Linked DNA regions of Homo sapiens: all the other regions are linked to region 2. Evidence: promoter capture Hi-C in 16 types of primary human blood cells and fetal thymus (Javierre and others, 2016). All regions are on one chromosome and are shown on one strand. Each heading gives the region's core, a stretch centred on a gene start or on the middle of the fragment in contact. The rest is flanking DNA. Distances are from core to core; before and after follow the strand shown.

What was found. Contacts are between HindIII fragments. The CHiCAGO score rates a contact against its expected background, and 5 or more counts as called.
Region 1: a contact is called between a fragment that was not itself captured here and the fragment with the promoter of POU6F2-AS1 in region 2, in 1 of 17 cell types (naive B cells). The highest score is 5.8, in naive B cells.
Region 3: a fragment that was not itself captured here is called in contact with the fragment with the promoter of POU6F2-AS1 in region 2 in 1 of 17 cell types (megakaryocytes); the score reaches 5.7 in megakaryocytes.

The regions. Positions count from the first base shown.
Region 1 is chr7:38,790,642-38,795,392 of GRCh38, forward strand. All of the region lies in intron 9 of VPS41 (VPS41 subunit of HOPS complex), which reads right to left. Among named protein-coding and RNA genes, the nearest start is that of VPS41, 120 kb to the right of the region's middle. The HindIII fragment of the contact is 7,889 bases long and covers 1-4,751 here.
Region 2 is chr7:39,403,355-39,408,098 of GRCh38, forward strand. POU6F2-AS1 (POU6F2 antisense RNA 1) reads right to left here and starts at 2,992. Exons shown (of 4, transcript NR_046711.1): 1 at 2,980-2,992; 2 at 2,663-2,765; 3 at 1,573-1,651; 4 at 1,244-1,429. It overlaps POU6F2 (POU class 6 homeobox 2), which reads left to right. Exons shown (of 10, transcript NM_001370959.1): 6 at 3,246-3,386. The HindIII fragment of the contact is 9,360 bases long and covers 861-4,744 here.
Region 3 is chr7:38,808,613-38,812,937 of GRCh38, forward strand. The region is part of intron 7 of VPS41 (VPS41 subunit of HOPS complex); the gene reads right to left. Among named protein-coding and RNA genes, the nearest start is that of VPS41, 98 kb to the right of the region's middle. The HindIII fragment of the contact is 255 bases long and covers 1,277-1,531 here.

The sequences.
Region 1 (4,751 bases), core at 1,546-4,045, 610 kb before region 2:
CAGGAGGATGTGCATAGGTTATATGCAAATACCGCATCATTTTATATATGCAAATGTTACATCATTTATATAAGCATCAGAGGAGCCCAGGATCCACAGGGGTCCTGGAACCAATTCCCCACAGGCACTGAGGGATGATTGCCTTTTATTACATGAATGTACTATACTTAATCAACCCCCTTTGGGGGCATATTTTTTTGTTTTTATATCTATTGTAAGCAATAGTGCAATCAACATACTTATATATAAAACTTTAGGACTTTTGTTTACTTAGGATAAATTCCTAGAAGTAGAATTGATACCAATGGGTACATAAACTTTTGTAAGGTTTTGTTTTTTAATATACGTAGTATACTGAGTTGCTGCCCAGCAACACTGCAGCGACTCAGTGAATGCAGAGTGCCCACTTTCCCTCAGGCGGGGCTTGAACCCATGGCTGCAGAGGTAGAAGCCTCCACATAGAAGTGACCGGCTGTCTTCTTCCTTGATTGCTTTTTGCCATTTGTCTCTTGTCCGTTTCATATAACTGCCTGTCCACTTCTCCAATTTTCTTCCCTTCTGGTAGACTTTTGAGCTTATAAGTTATCCACTCTTCTTCCCACACTTACTAGGGAAACTACTAAATCATCTAATGGCACATTCCACAATGCCAAATGGACAACTGTTTTAATGTGCTGATATAAGTACATGAGGAACAGTCTTTCAAATGGTTTGAAGTATAATAAAAAAGCAAATGTATCGGCAATATTAGTGAACACTTTTTTGGGCAGTTACTGGCAGTGCTCCTGAGTTAAGGCCTTTGTGAAATAGATATCATTATTTTCTTAAGATTATGGTGCAGTGGGGGAGACACAAAAATAAGGCACTTTACTGAAGTGTGACAGGGAAGTACAGAGCAGGGGCATCTCCTGCTAGGGCAGGAAGACTTCCTGGAAGAAGTGACATGTAAGTTGAAGCAGGAGAGACAACACAGGAGAACACGGTGATATGACAGCATAGGGCCTTCAACTGGAAGCTCAATCGGACAGAAATGAAGGGCATGGGGGAAGAAGGGGACAGAGTTGAGGCTGGAGAGTAACGGAGAGGCAGATCACAAAGAACCTTGGAAGTCATGTTTATGATCAGTTATCCTATGGGCAAGGAGGGGACTGACCTCATCTGACCTGCACTTAGATTATTCTAGCTATACTGTTTAGGATAGGTTTAGGGGGGGTAAAACCAGCACCAAAAAGACTTGACAGGAAGATGAAGTGCAGAGATTTGAGAGACATTGACAGAACTTGAGGGCTGACAGTCTTCCAACACTCAGACACCCCTGAAAGACAATGTTATTATGTTTAATCCAGAGATGAGGACACTGAGGCTCTGTGAGTGATGCCAGACTGCCTGGCCAGAGCTGGAATTCACACCAAGGCCTGACTGGTATCTCGCTGGTCATGCCACAGCTTGAGAACAAGGATGCATTGCACTACTGGTAGCTGGGCATGGCTCTACTGCACTCCTCAGCTCTGTGGTCTGGGCTCACCCAGCACCTGTCTCATAGGTAGGAAGTGGCAGGTAAAGGTGGGTGAATAGGTAAGTGCTACCTTAAGCTCATGTCTTGCATAAGCACAAATCAATGACTGTAAGAGCCCTTTACCACTGATAGGTGGGTTCTTGCCCATGAACTCTAATCTGCTTCCTCCACTTCTCCACATGGGTGGATAACAGGCATCTCTCAAGTAGACACACCTAAAACCAACTCTTGCCTTTTTCACTCTAAACATGCTTTATCAACAGTCTTTCCCATTTCAGCAAAAGGTAGTTTCACCTTCCAGTATGTTAGGTGACTGTGATCTTACACCCCACATCCAACTGTCAACAAATACTGCAGAGTCTACCATCAAAATATATCCAGGATCTGGTCATTTCTCACCAGCTGCATTACACTGACCTGAGACAACATTATTTTTTATGGAGATGACTGCGGTAGCCTAATTGGTCTCCCCTCTTGACTGCCCCTTTGCCGTTTAGCTCCACACAGCAACCAGAGATCCTTCCAAAATACAAGTTAGATCACTTAACTGACTCCACAACAGCTCAAAGCCCTGTGCTGGCTTCCTACCTCAGTCAAATTAAAAGCCAAAGACTTCTCAAGGGCCCCTGGGCTCCAACATCACCTGCTCCTCCACCACACCCTCCCCGACCCCCACTTACATCCCTCTCCTCCACATCTGCTCCACTCACTCTGACACAAACAGCTTCCTTGCTGTTCCTCAAAAGCACACCAATCACACTCCTGCTTCAAGAATTTTTGCACTCCTGCTCCTTCTGCTAACACCTCCTACCCCAGGCCCCCATAGAGCTGTATAACTTTTCTCTCCAGATCTCTGACCAAACAACATATTAGTTATTGGACAGGCCATCCCTGGACCACCCTATATTAAATGGTACCTACCCCAATCCCTTTTCCTATTATCCTGTTAAAATGTTCTCCTTTTTATTTGCCACCTTCAACATGCTATACTTACTTGTTTTTGTCCACCTTCCTCACTAGAACATAAATTTCCCAAGGGAAGGAACTCATTCATTTGTATATTTGTGTTCTGCAACACTAGAACACTGCCTGGCACACTGCAGGCACCTGGTAAACGTTTGTTGGGCAAATGAATGAATGAAGTAAATGGTAAGGTCCAATTGCACACTTTATTTTACTGTTTCTGGTTGCTTCTCCCCAACAAGATTGCTGTCCCTCTGAAGAAAGACCACGTCCTTATCTCCTCTTCCTTCAACAGAACTCACTAAGAGTCTACACTGAGAAGTGCTCAACATATAGAACTGAGTTTGAAGAAAAGGAACCTCCAATAAAATGAAATATTTGACATAAAAATTGTATAGAAGCTGGATCTTAACTTGGGCATAAAGAAAGGGTATATGTTTCCCATGGCTGCTATAACAGACTGCCACACTTGGTGGTTTAAAACAACAGAGATGTTGTTTTAAACATCTGTTACAGTTCCGCAGGCTACAAGTCTGAAATTGGGTTCACTGGGCTAAAATCAAGGTGTTGGCAAGGCTGTACTTCCTCTGGAGGCTCTAGGGGACAATCTGCTGTCTCCTCCAGCTTTCTGGTGGCTGCCACCATTCACTGACCACCTCACTCCAATTTCTGCCTCCACAGTGGTACTGCCTTCTCCTCCTCTCTTCCATGTTAGCATCTCCCTCTGCCTCCCTCTCATAAAGATAAACGTGATTGCATTTAGGGCCCACCCAGATAATGTAGGTTAATTCCCCATCTCAAGATCCTTAACTTAATCATATCTTTTGCTAAATAAAGTAATATTTACCTTTTTGTCATATAAAGAAACATTTATAGGTTCTAGGAATTAGGGCTTGCTATCCTTGGGGCCATTATTCAGCATACCAGAGAAAGAATTTCTGGGAGTAATGAGTAAACTTGTTACATATTTCTACAGGCTAATTTTCCTTGTCTTTCACCATAAGAAAAGAAAATCAGAACTTTAAAACTAACAAGCAACCTGGTCCATTTAAGGGATTTTTAAAATACTAAGAATATAAATTTATTGGATGAGTAACCACACACGTGGGACAGGGAGCCCAGGGAATCCCTTTTTCCATCCTACGATATAGGCACAGTTTCCTTCCTGTTACCCTAAATATAAATCAGGTTGTGTTCATGTAACACATGAAGAAAAAAGAACCTGAATGATAACAACATGAGGGCTGGGAGGGCCTGAAGTGTAACAATGTTTGTTTTGCTAATAACAATCATTACATTAATAATTTTCCACTTTCCCTTTCCAGAGAAGAGTACATTTTAAATAGCCACGTCCCCTTCATGACATTGCTAGAACTTTATATAATAATGACAGCTAACATTTATTAAGCAATTACATCAGATTCTATGCAAAACTCTTTACATGCATTGGCTCATTTATTTCTCCCCAAAACTTGTGATGTGAGAACAATTAGCACTACCACTTTGCAGATGAGGACAGTAAGGCTCACAGAGGATCCCAAAGGAAAATGGAGAAGCTGGACTTGATCCCAGGTCTGTCTGGCCTCAAAGCCTGAGCTCTTCCATGAGACTACTGCTGGGATACTCTCTCATGCCATTTTTATACTTCCACTAATTTTTAGTTTATTTTGTTCGAATTAAGCTGTCTATTTTTTAAAGGGAAACAACTTTTGGCTCTGAAGTATCTAATATAACAGAAGCACTAGTAGGCATAAAATAAATGTGAATGAGCTTTGGGCCCCCTTTCACAGAACAGCTAAATTTCATTTACCCAGGCGCATAAGGGTCAGATAATTAAACTTCAGAAAATATGCCCAAATCTTATTATTGATGATAAGTCTGGGTCTCTACTCTATCAAATTATTACCAAGCAGCAGGATGATTTAATTTTAACCTTCTCTCTCCACTATCAATAACTCTAATGAAGAAGTGAAGGGTCAAAGCTAAGGGAAAATGAAAAGAATAATAAAGAGAAGAAAACCTGACTAAACAACAAAACTAACCCCATGTTCTGTAAATAGCTAAGGCCAGCTGGGATGTGAGAAATTAAAAGAAGATTGAAAAAGACAGCACCATTCTCAACACGAAAAAGTTCACAAATAGTTTTACATGCCATGGAAAAGAAAGAATACATCTTAAAACTTATGCACAGGAAATAATTTGAGCATTAAATGGTAATCACGTCACAATAACATCCAAGTGAAAAGATTTGGGTCCTAGAAGCCAATCAAGA
Region 2 (4,744 bases), core at 1,742-4,241:
AAATCCTTCCTTTAGAAAGCTTCCACATTTATCAACAAGCATACACCAGAATTCATCATGTCTTTTAAGCTAGTCTGTTGAAAACAAGACCATGTATTACAGTCAGACTTCATTTGGGCCATCCTTTGCTGGTTAGGTACATTGGCAGTGAAAGATCTGAAGGCATAAACTTGGCAGCAGCTTCAAAATATCCAGTTGGTCCCGGAACAATAACATGCTCATTATGTGCATTTATTGTTCCTGGGTTCCCTGCTGTCCAAATCTACCCGGAGTCTCCAATCAAGAAATATCGATAGGAGCAGTGCTAACATGATATGACTGGGGACAATACAGAGTGACATGACCCGAGGTGATGAGAAGAACACGTGTGGTTTCCTGACCAACCCCTTCACTTCCCTCCCACATATTTTAATGCATATTACATCCCTGCCTTGGCAGTCACAGACAGAGAAGCCAAAAGATATGTATGTATAAAGTTACATCCATCAACACCACCAGTGGTCCTCCTGGAATGCCGTCAGCTTACAGATTGGCTTGCACCCACTGTCTGTGCACACCACACTCCGTGACTGTGGTTCTAGCTCTAGTTCTACAGGAACAGCAGGGCATCTCCCCAGAACCCAGACAACTTCCACAAAGACCTACTGGAATGACGGTAGGAAGTAAAAGAGTCATCTGAGTTGGCATTTGCTTCATTAAGAGGGAAAGGCAGCAAAAAGAGGACCAAATTAGGTTTTAAGCTAGGACCAGAATACAGAGGAAATAAACATTAAAAATAAGCCAAACCTATATATTTGTGGTTGCCAAGGCAGCCATCCAAAGCAGTTGAAATATATCCATTTCTGACCCCAAAACACAAAAGCTTAGAAGCCCACTTTTAAGTAGAGACTTTGTTTTGTATTCAGAATAATTGTTTATCCTTTATGCAATACCTGAATTTGCAGCAAACTGCATGGGACTATATCTGAACAACACACTAGTGTCCTAAATGTAGGAAATTCTCAATCTATGCTATTTGGTATCCAGAGAATAATTCTATAATTTCCTATATGAATTTTTGATCAACATAGATGTTAGGGAAATGCCTTGCAATTAATAAAAAATATTTTCTTTTCATTAAATATAAATAATTGTCTATCTTTTTCAGAGAGCATTCTGTATGTAGATACTTAAATTGTTCACCCAAAATTCATGGACCAAATCCATAGTCAACATTAAGATCCAACTGAACATAATTTAATCATTTGTTGAGGATGAAGAAGTTTATTTTGAGATATTCCTGAAACTCAAGAAATTCATTATGATTTCAACTTGTATTGCATGAAAGAAATGCAAACATGGCAATTGACAGATGACCTAAAAATATTGTACCAATGGGCAGTGTCTGTACCGGCAGTTCGGAGACAGTATTTCCCAAGCAGTCTTCTCACTTCAGAAGTTAAAAAAAAAAAGAACACATTATGAACTCTTCTCACTTTAGGTAGTCTACAAACAAGGAGAGTTACTTCTGGATGCATAGTTACCCCACCTATCCTTTAAAGACATACTCCAAAAATCAAAATCAAGACCAACCTGAATTTTAAATCCCATGGTGGTAATCTGGGATAAGACAGGGTTTCTCTTTAGGCTGATGAGTGAGAATTTTTTTCTCCTTAAAAAGAAAATCATTATTGTCTTTTAGGAGAGAGATAAAGGCAAAAGACATAAAGTAATCAACTTAAAATGGATTCTCATTTTTTTTAAAAAATGTGCTGGGTCAGCAGAATTACTGAAGAACAGTTGTGTGAAATTTAGTTATAAATGAATAAAGAAACCGATAAGATAAAGATACCACATTAATGAAAAAATAGTTATTAAATTCCTGTCCTTTTTGATGTTTTCTCTGATAATTAATATTTCCTTCTTCATAAGATAGTATAATCTCTAGGCAAATTTCCAAAGAAATTAAGAAATAAAATATGATTTGAAGGGAAGAAGGAAAAGAGAGAGAGAGAAGAGAGACTGAGACAAAAAATGAAGAAAGGAAAGTTTTAAAAGTGGCATTTTTAGAAGAGCTTCCAAGACTTGAATTAGGTATGGCATTAATTTTTTTCCACCTAGTCTTAGTCGTGGCAGGTTTCTGAAAAAATGCAGGAATTTCATGGATGTGGGAACTGGTGATGGAAAATGCATTATTTCCAACACAACAATTGTTGTACTTGAGAGAAACTATATGGGGAAAAAAATAACACCCTAGAATAAATACAAATGAAATTCATGTATCAAAACCAATACTGTGAAAATAGTTTAAATGTTTCTTGAATTTATATCTAGTCATTAACCTAAATGCAGATTTTAGTTGAAGCCACACTTCTGCCTCATGGTCAGAAGGCCTGAAAACCTGTGGCGTGGAAAATTGGCAGGAAGGAGAATATTGAATTGGTCTCCATGGAAAAACAGATTTTGGCAGCCATAACCTCCTCCCCGGCAGGTCTCTCTCCCACTCTCTCTTTCTTCCTCCCTGTTTCACTCTTGTCCCAGGAAAGAGGCTGAGGAAAGACCATGTATCAGCTACAACAGCAAGCAGTTGTCAATCTGACCATTCATCGAACAACCTTTCTCATTGGCATTGAATCCTGTGGTTTAGGTTAAAGCCCCAAAATTGTCGCAGCCCTAGACTCACCCTCTGAGAGCACGGAGGCCATAAATTCCATTTCTACTGGCTTTGGTTTCCTTCTCCCCTCAAACAAGAAAGTGGGGTGGAACACCTGCCTCGCTCGATGTCCCTGAAAGAAACTGCAATTCACAAATGGAAATGATAAATTCATTCTTAGAAATCCTAAAAATCTATTCCTCTCTTTCCCCGATCCCCATCCTGTTTACTCTCCTATTCTGTCTGGTTACCTCAGGGAAAGCAGATATTTCCTGAGTTTTATTTAGTCTAGAGGGCTTCTGCGAAATCATTTCTCCACCCCAGAAGGTCCTAACAGCCCACCTCACCCCTGAAGTTCAGGCTCGTTCCCTCCTGGGCTAGCCCTAAACCCAGACTCCACCAAGCTCCCCAACATTTTCCTTCCAGCCTCGTTTCCATCATCCCCCTACCCCAGAGCTTCCGGGGGAATGTTCGCCACGCCCCTCCGGTGGGTTCCAGGCCCTTTGCATGAGCGAATTGAGGCGAGAACTACCTCCCCAGAGTCAATGTTGTGTCCGTGTGCTGTGCCTGTGCCTCTCGGTGGTTTTCACGGTGATCTTTTCTCTCTTTGCAGCTGGTTAATAATCCACTAGCAAGTCAGGCTGCAGCGGCTGCAGCAGCCATGAGCTCCATAGCAAGCTCACAGGCCTTTGGCAATGCCCTCTCCAGTCTTCAGGGGGTCACAGGTCAACTAGTTACTAATGCACAAGGACAGGTGAGTGGGAGATGGGAACAAGAGTGCATTTTTATGGCAGATTGAACTCGGAAAGGAATTGAATTTCTTTTGCATGACAGTGATATGTAACCGCATCTATTCGAGGCAAATAAATAATGTTTACTAGCAATGTCAAGAATAGGAGAAGGGTTGGGAGGTGTTTCTATGTTTTAGAAGCAAGATTTTTTTCCTACCTCTAGATTGCCAAAGTTTTATTTTGTTTTTATCTCTGTACTATGACTCATGTTATGACCTTATATGAAGAAGTTACTTTGCATTACAGGGGGCATTCTTTCAAAAAGAAAAAAGTTACATCTTAAAAATAAAATGTCAGTTTTGCTTTTTTTTACTTTTCACTTAAGGAAAAACTTGGATAATGAGGGAAACTGATCAGTTTCCTTCCATAATTGCTGTGAGAGAGATATCAAAATTAGTCTTAACAAAGCCAATTTTTGAATGTATGGGAAGGTGATGAAGAAGTCTTGTAAAAGCAACAAAGAAAAGGGGTGAGTTAGAATGAAGCCAATTGCAAGTCAGCCCCATGGTCCCTGGCCTCCTGCCAATTCCTACGGAAGCCAGGCAACCTCTGGCATGCTTGTTGATTTACTTCAGTATGTCAGGGGTAGTAAACTTTCCTCATGTCATGAGAGAGGGTCTGTCCCCTCAACGCTGCTAATGTGCCACATAATGTTCATACTAGATCCTGGAAGAGCTTCAGACAACCCAATAAACCCAAAAGCTGCATAAAAAGCAAACGAGATGAAGCTGATGATGTCGGGGTACCCTCCATCTGAAGGCCTGTCTCAGAGCCCAGTGGTTAGGACACTTGGTTCTCCAGTGTGACTGATCATGAAATCCAAGGGAGAAGGAGCTAGCATTCTCACAAAGACTTTTCCCCCCAGCCTTATCTATTTGCCCAGCAGTGTGTTTGCATACTCCCTGCTTGGCCTGTTCTGTGGAGAGCAGGCATTTTGATGTCTTGAACCCTGTTTTTATTTTACATAAAGAGTAAACAAAGATGCATTATAAGCTAAATCGTCTCTGTCTACATTCCAGGGAAAAAAAGCTGACCTTGTTTTATTTCCTGGGCGGGTGTGGTATTGTCCCGTCAGAACCCCGAGGGCTGAACGATGGAGCTTGTCAAAGAGAGGCCCCATGTAATGAATCATCTTATCACAGGTGCACACCGCACATATTAAAGGAGGGTTGTATGAACACTGTGCCCTCTACAGTAACCTTTCAATGTCTGCTTTAACCCTTGTTCCAATCCCTTTTCATCAAAGGATCATTTTATGCAGCCGGCTCTAAATGGAGGCTCTCAAAAGCCTATTAAGATTTCTGGAGGGACGGGGTATTGG
Region 3 (4,325 bases), core at 154-2,653, 600 kb before region 2:
TCAGACGATTCACTTGAAAACTACAATGGTAAGTAATGTGGGAAGAAGTTTCAGGTAGAAGGCTACAATCAAGCATCTGAAAACTTGCGGAAATACTATCCTAGAGATCCAAACACTGGACAGGAGACAGAGAGGAACTGCTAATGTCAAAACCCTTCTAGCCACCAAAACCCCAGCTCCAATCTGACCCAAAGATGAACAAACACACGAGGAAGCACTCCTACACTTCATGTTTAGGGATGGCAGTGGTAAGAAAAGGCTCACCGGATTATCTAGATTCTAAAAAGATTTGTAGCCAGGGGACTGGGAGCTATTGGCAGATGCTGGCCAAAAGGGCACAGACTTTCAGTTCTAAGATGAATAAATTCGGGGATCTAATGTACGCTATGGTTACTATATTTAATAATGCCATATTAAATACTTAAAATTTACCAATGGATTTTAAGTATTCTCATCCCCAAAGAAATGGTAACTATGTGAGGCAACTGATAATGTTAATTAGCTTGAACGTGGCAATCACTTCACAATAAATACTAAATACATTTGGTATATATCAAATCATCATTGTATAACTTAAATATGTATAATTTGGCTGGGCATGGTGGCTGACGCCTGTAATCCTAGCACTTTGGGAGGCCGAGGCAGGCGGATCACGAGGTCAGGAGTTTGAGACCAGCCTGGCCAACATAGTGAAACCCCGTCTCTACTAAAAATACAAAAATATATATATATGTATATTTTATATATATATATAATATAAAATTTTAATTTGTCAATTATACCTCAATAAAGCTAGAAAAAAATAAAAATGTTGATAACATGGGCAAAAGAAATAAAATTTAAAAACAATCTTAATAATAATTTTTTAAATATTTACAGTTTTATAAAAAGCTTCCCATATTGAATCCTCCCTCAAAAAGGATTCAAAATCCAATTTATTATTTGCAGACCACTGCTGGAAGCTTATAGAAGCTGGCTGACACTACCATCTCTGTCCTTCAGGTAAAATTTGCCATTTCAAATTTTCCTCATTTCATTCACTCCAGTCCTTTCCTTGTTTGCTGACTGACATTTTCCAGCTTACAAAGCAACTTGCCCCTGCGGCCAGGTCCCCTCATTCTATCCCACCGTAACGCCAAACAGCTGACTATCTGATTTCTAAAAATGAACTCCACTGCAAACAGCATCGCGACAATTTAATGATTTGTCAAAGTAGTAGAACCAGTTATTATAAAGTGTATTTCAGTGTTCAAAAGTAAAGGTCCTATGAAGCTAAAGCTTACCTGCTGACAGGGAAAGCTGGACAATTAAAAAAAAAAATCCAGACAACATTCACTTGACAGATTTATTTCTAAAATAGAAACTTCATTTGCCATGCTCCTGTATTAAAATTCTTGCTACAAAAGAAGGTTACACTTACAAAAAAAATTCATTGGTTCACGTGTTTGAAAGCTCTCTCCAATGGCACTTTTAAGAGATGTGCTTTCTCTTTTTTTTTTTTCAAGATGGAAACAAAACAGAATATGGAATAAGCTTTTTATGCTCATGTGTCAAGCACTGGAGTCCATAAATCCAGCTATGGCATTCAACTACTAAGAAGATACCTTGAAAACCTAAAATAAAAGTTTATGCCAGACAGAACTATAGCCTCCTAGTCCTAGTCCCTGGTGGATAAAGAGCTATCTCTGAACACCTAAGAAGCCAGAACTTTGAAAAGGAAATAGCTGTCAAACTACAGTTTCAGGGTTTCTTCTGTTACATTGCTATGTTCTGCAATGTATGTTGCATACTTTGAAAAGTATGTTCTAATTACTTTAATAATTTTTATAGGAATCAAAAATTGTAATAAGATTAAAGAACTATTAAATATTAATAGACATCTCTCTCAAATTTTCTTATGACTTCACGAATATCTCATAGTGGTCCTCTATTTTTCTACTTAGTTCCTCTAGTCTCTGTGCCACTTTAACCCATTGTTTGTAGAAGGTGGCATATAATTCCAACGATTTATTTGGCTGTCAGTCTAGAGATCACTGTTCTTAAGGGTTAAGAATGTCTTTATTCCACATTACACCTTCATTTGGCTAGTCTTTGCTCCAATTTTTTGAAGATTAAATTATTTCTTAAAGGCAGAAAGTCATAACCTCTCAGTTATCTGACATATGTCTTTATTCTCTTTTCCCCCTATGTGATCTGCCACCTGTTCTCAACAGAGGAGGGATCTTGATATCTATAACATGATTATTGCAAGGTTATAACCATTTGCTAAATGTTGGGCTTTTCAAAATTGTTCTGCCTAGTTTCTGCTGCTAGTTTAAAATTGCAGCTGAAAGGATTGAAGTAGCTACTGAGCCAATGTAGTTATCTCATTTTTCAAAGATATAAACCTCTATAACTCAGTTACAAAAAGAGCAGCTCCTCCTAAAAATTTGCGAACACTTTCAAAATGAAAGTGATCATTTCACAAGTCCTCCTTTCTTAATGTAACCTTCTAAATGCCTTTAGTTTTTAACATCAGATATATTTCTTAATGAAATTAGAAAAATACATCCTAAAATACCTCAACTAAATAAATCTATTTCAAAACAAACAAAACACGCTAATGTCAAAAACATGAAGCATAAATAATCTTTACAAGTACATACCACACAACATGTAGAAAAAGGAAATTCTCTGGAGATTTCTGCAAACCACACCAAGCTGATACACATTTTGAAAATCTCCATTTAACCATATGCAAACAGATCATTATAGTTTATCAAGAAAATGGTACTTTTTAGTACTTAGTAAATACATATTTACATGATAAAATTTAATGGATCCAAATAAATCAAAGTTTGTATGTTACAAGTCATTAAATTGCGGACACAGTTACATGTTTCTAAAGCCTTTAACATAAGTAAAATAAATTATAATGGCTTTTTTAAATAAATTATTCTAAATCACAAACTATTATCACACTTTTAAAAGACTTGTTTTGTCATACACACACACACACACACACACACCCCTCCATATATACAGATAGATAGATATATCTCATTCATATATATATATATCTTCTGTAGTAAGTGGAAATAATTTGCTTGTATTACCCTAGGGTGCTTTGATTGTACTGGGAATAAAAACAGGTTTTCCTTAAAGAATGATGATATATAATGGCTTTTTAAAGGGAAAGAACCCCAAACCAAAGTTTTAAGAGTAGACAGTCTTTGACTTATGATTATTTGACTTAATGATTTTTCAACTTTATGATGGTACCTATACAATGATTAAATTTTTCACTTTCAGTCTTCAATAAATTACATTATATATTCAATGCTTTATTATAAAATAGGCTTTGTGTTAAATGATTTTGCCTAACTGTAGTGTTCTGACTACAATTAAGGTAGGCTAGGCTAAGATGTGATGTTCAGTAGGTTAAGTATATCAAATGCATTTTTGACTTAACAATATTTTTAACTTACAATAGGCTTATCAGGACAACCTCAACTGTAAATTGAGGAGCATTTGTAGTTCATCTGCCATCCCATAACTAATTACAGAAAAATTAGTGGCTTTGAAACCTAAAAGGGGTACTGGCATAAAGATAGCTATATAGATTGGTAGAATTCAGAATCCAGAAATAAACCCTAACATTTATGGTTAACCAATTTTCCACAAAGGGCCCACACAATGGGAAAAGAATAGTCTTTGCAACAGTGATGCTGGGCCAACTGGATATTCACATGCAAAAGAATAAATTTGGACTCCTGTCTTACATCATACATAATGAACTCAAAATATATTGTACACCTAATTTAAGAGTAAAAAATACAAAAGTCTTAAAAGAAACAAGCATTAATCTTCATGACCTTGGAAGAGGCAACAGGCAGTGATCTCTTAGATACAACACCAATAGCACAAGTATCAAAAAAATTAAGATAAATGTGACTTTATTAAAGTTACAAACTTCTGTGCCTCAAAGGATACCATCAATAAAGTGAAAAGACAACTCATAGGCTGGGAAAAAATATTTGCGAATCATGTATCTGATAAGGAATATCTACCCAGAATTTATTTTTGAAGTTTATAACTCTATAATTAAAAAAACCCAATTAAAAAATAGGCGAAGAATCTGAATAAACATTTCTCCAAAGAAGATATGCAAATGGCCAATAAGCACAGGAAAACATGGTCAACATCATCAGTCATTAGAAGAAAGTCAAAACCACAATGAGATATCACTTAACACATACCAGAGTGATTATAATCAAAAAGAGAAAATAAAATGAATATTGGTGAGAATGTAGACAATTAAAACCCTCATATATTTCTGATGAGAA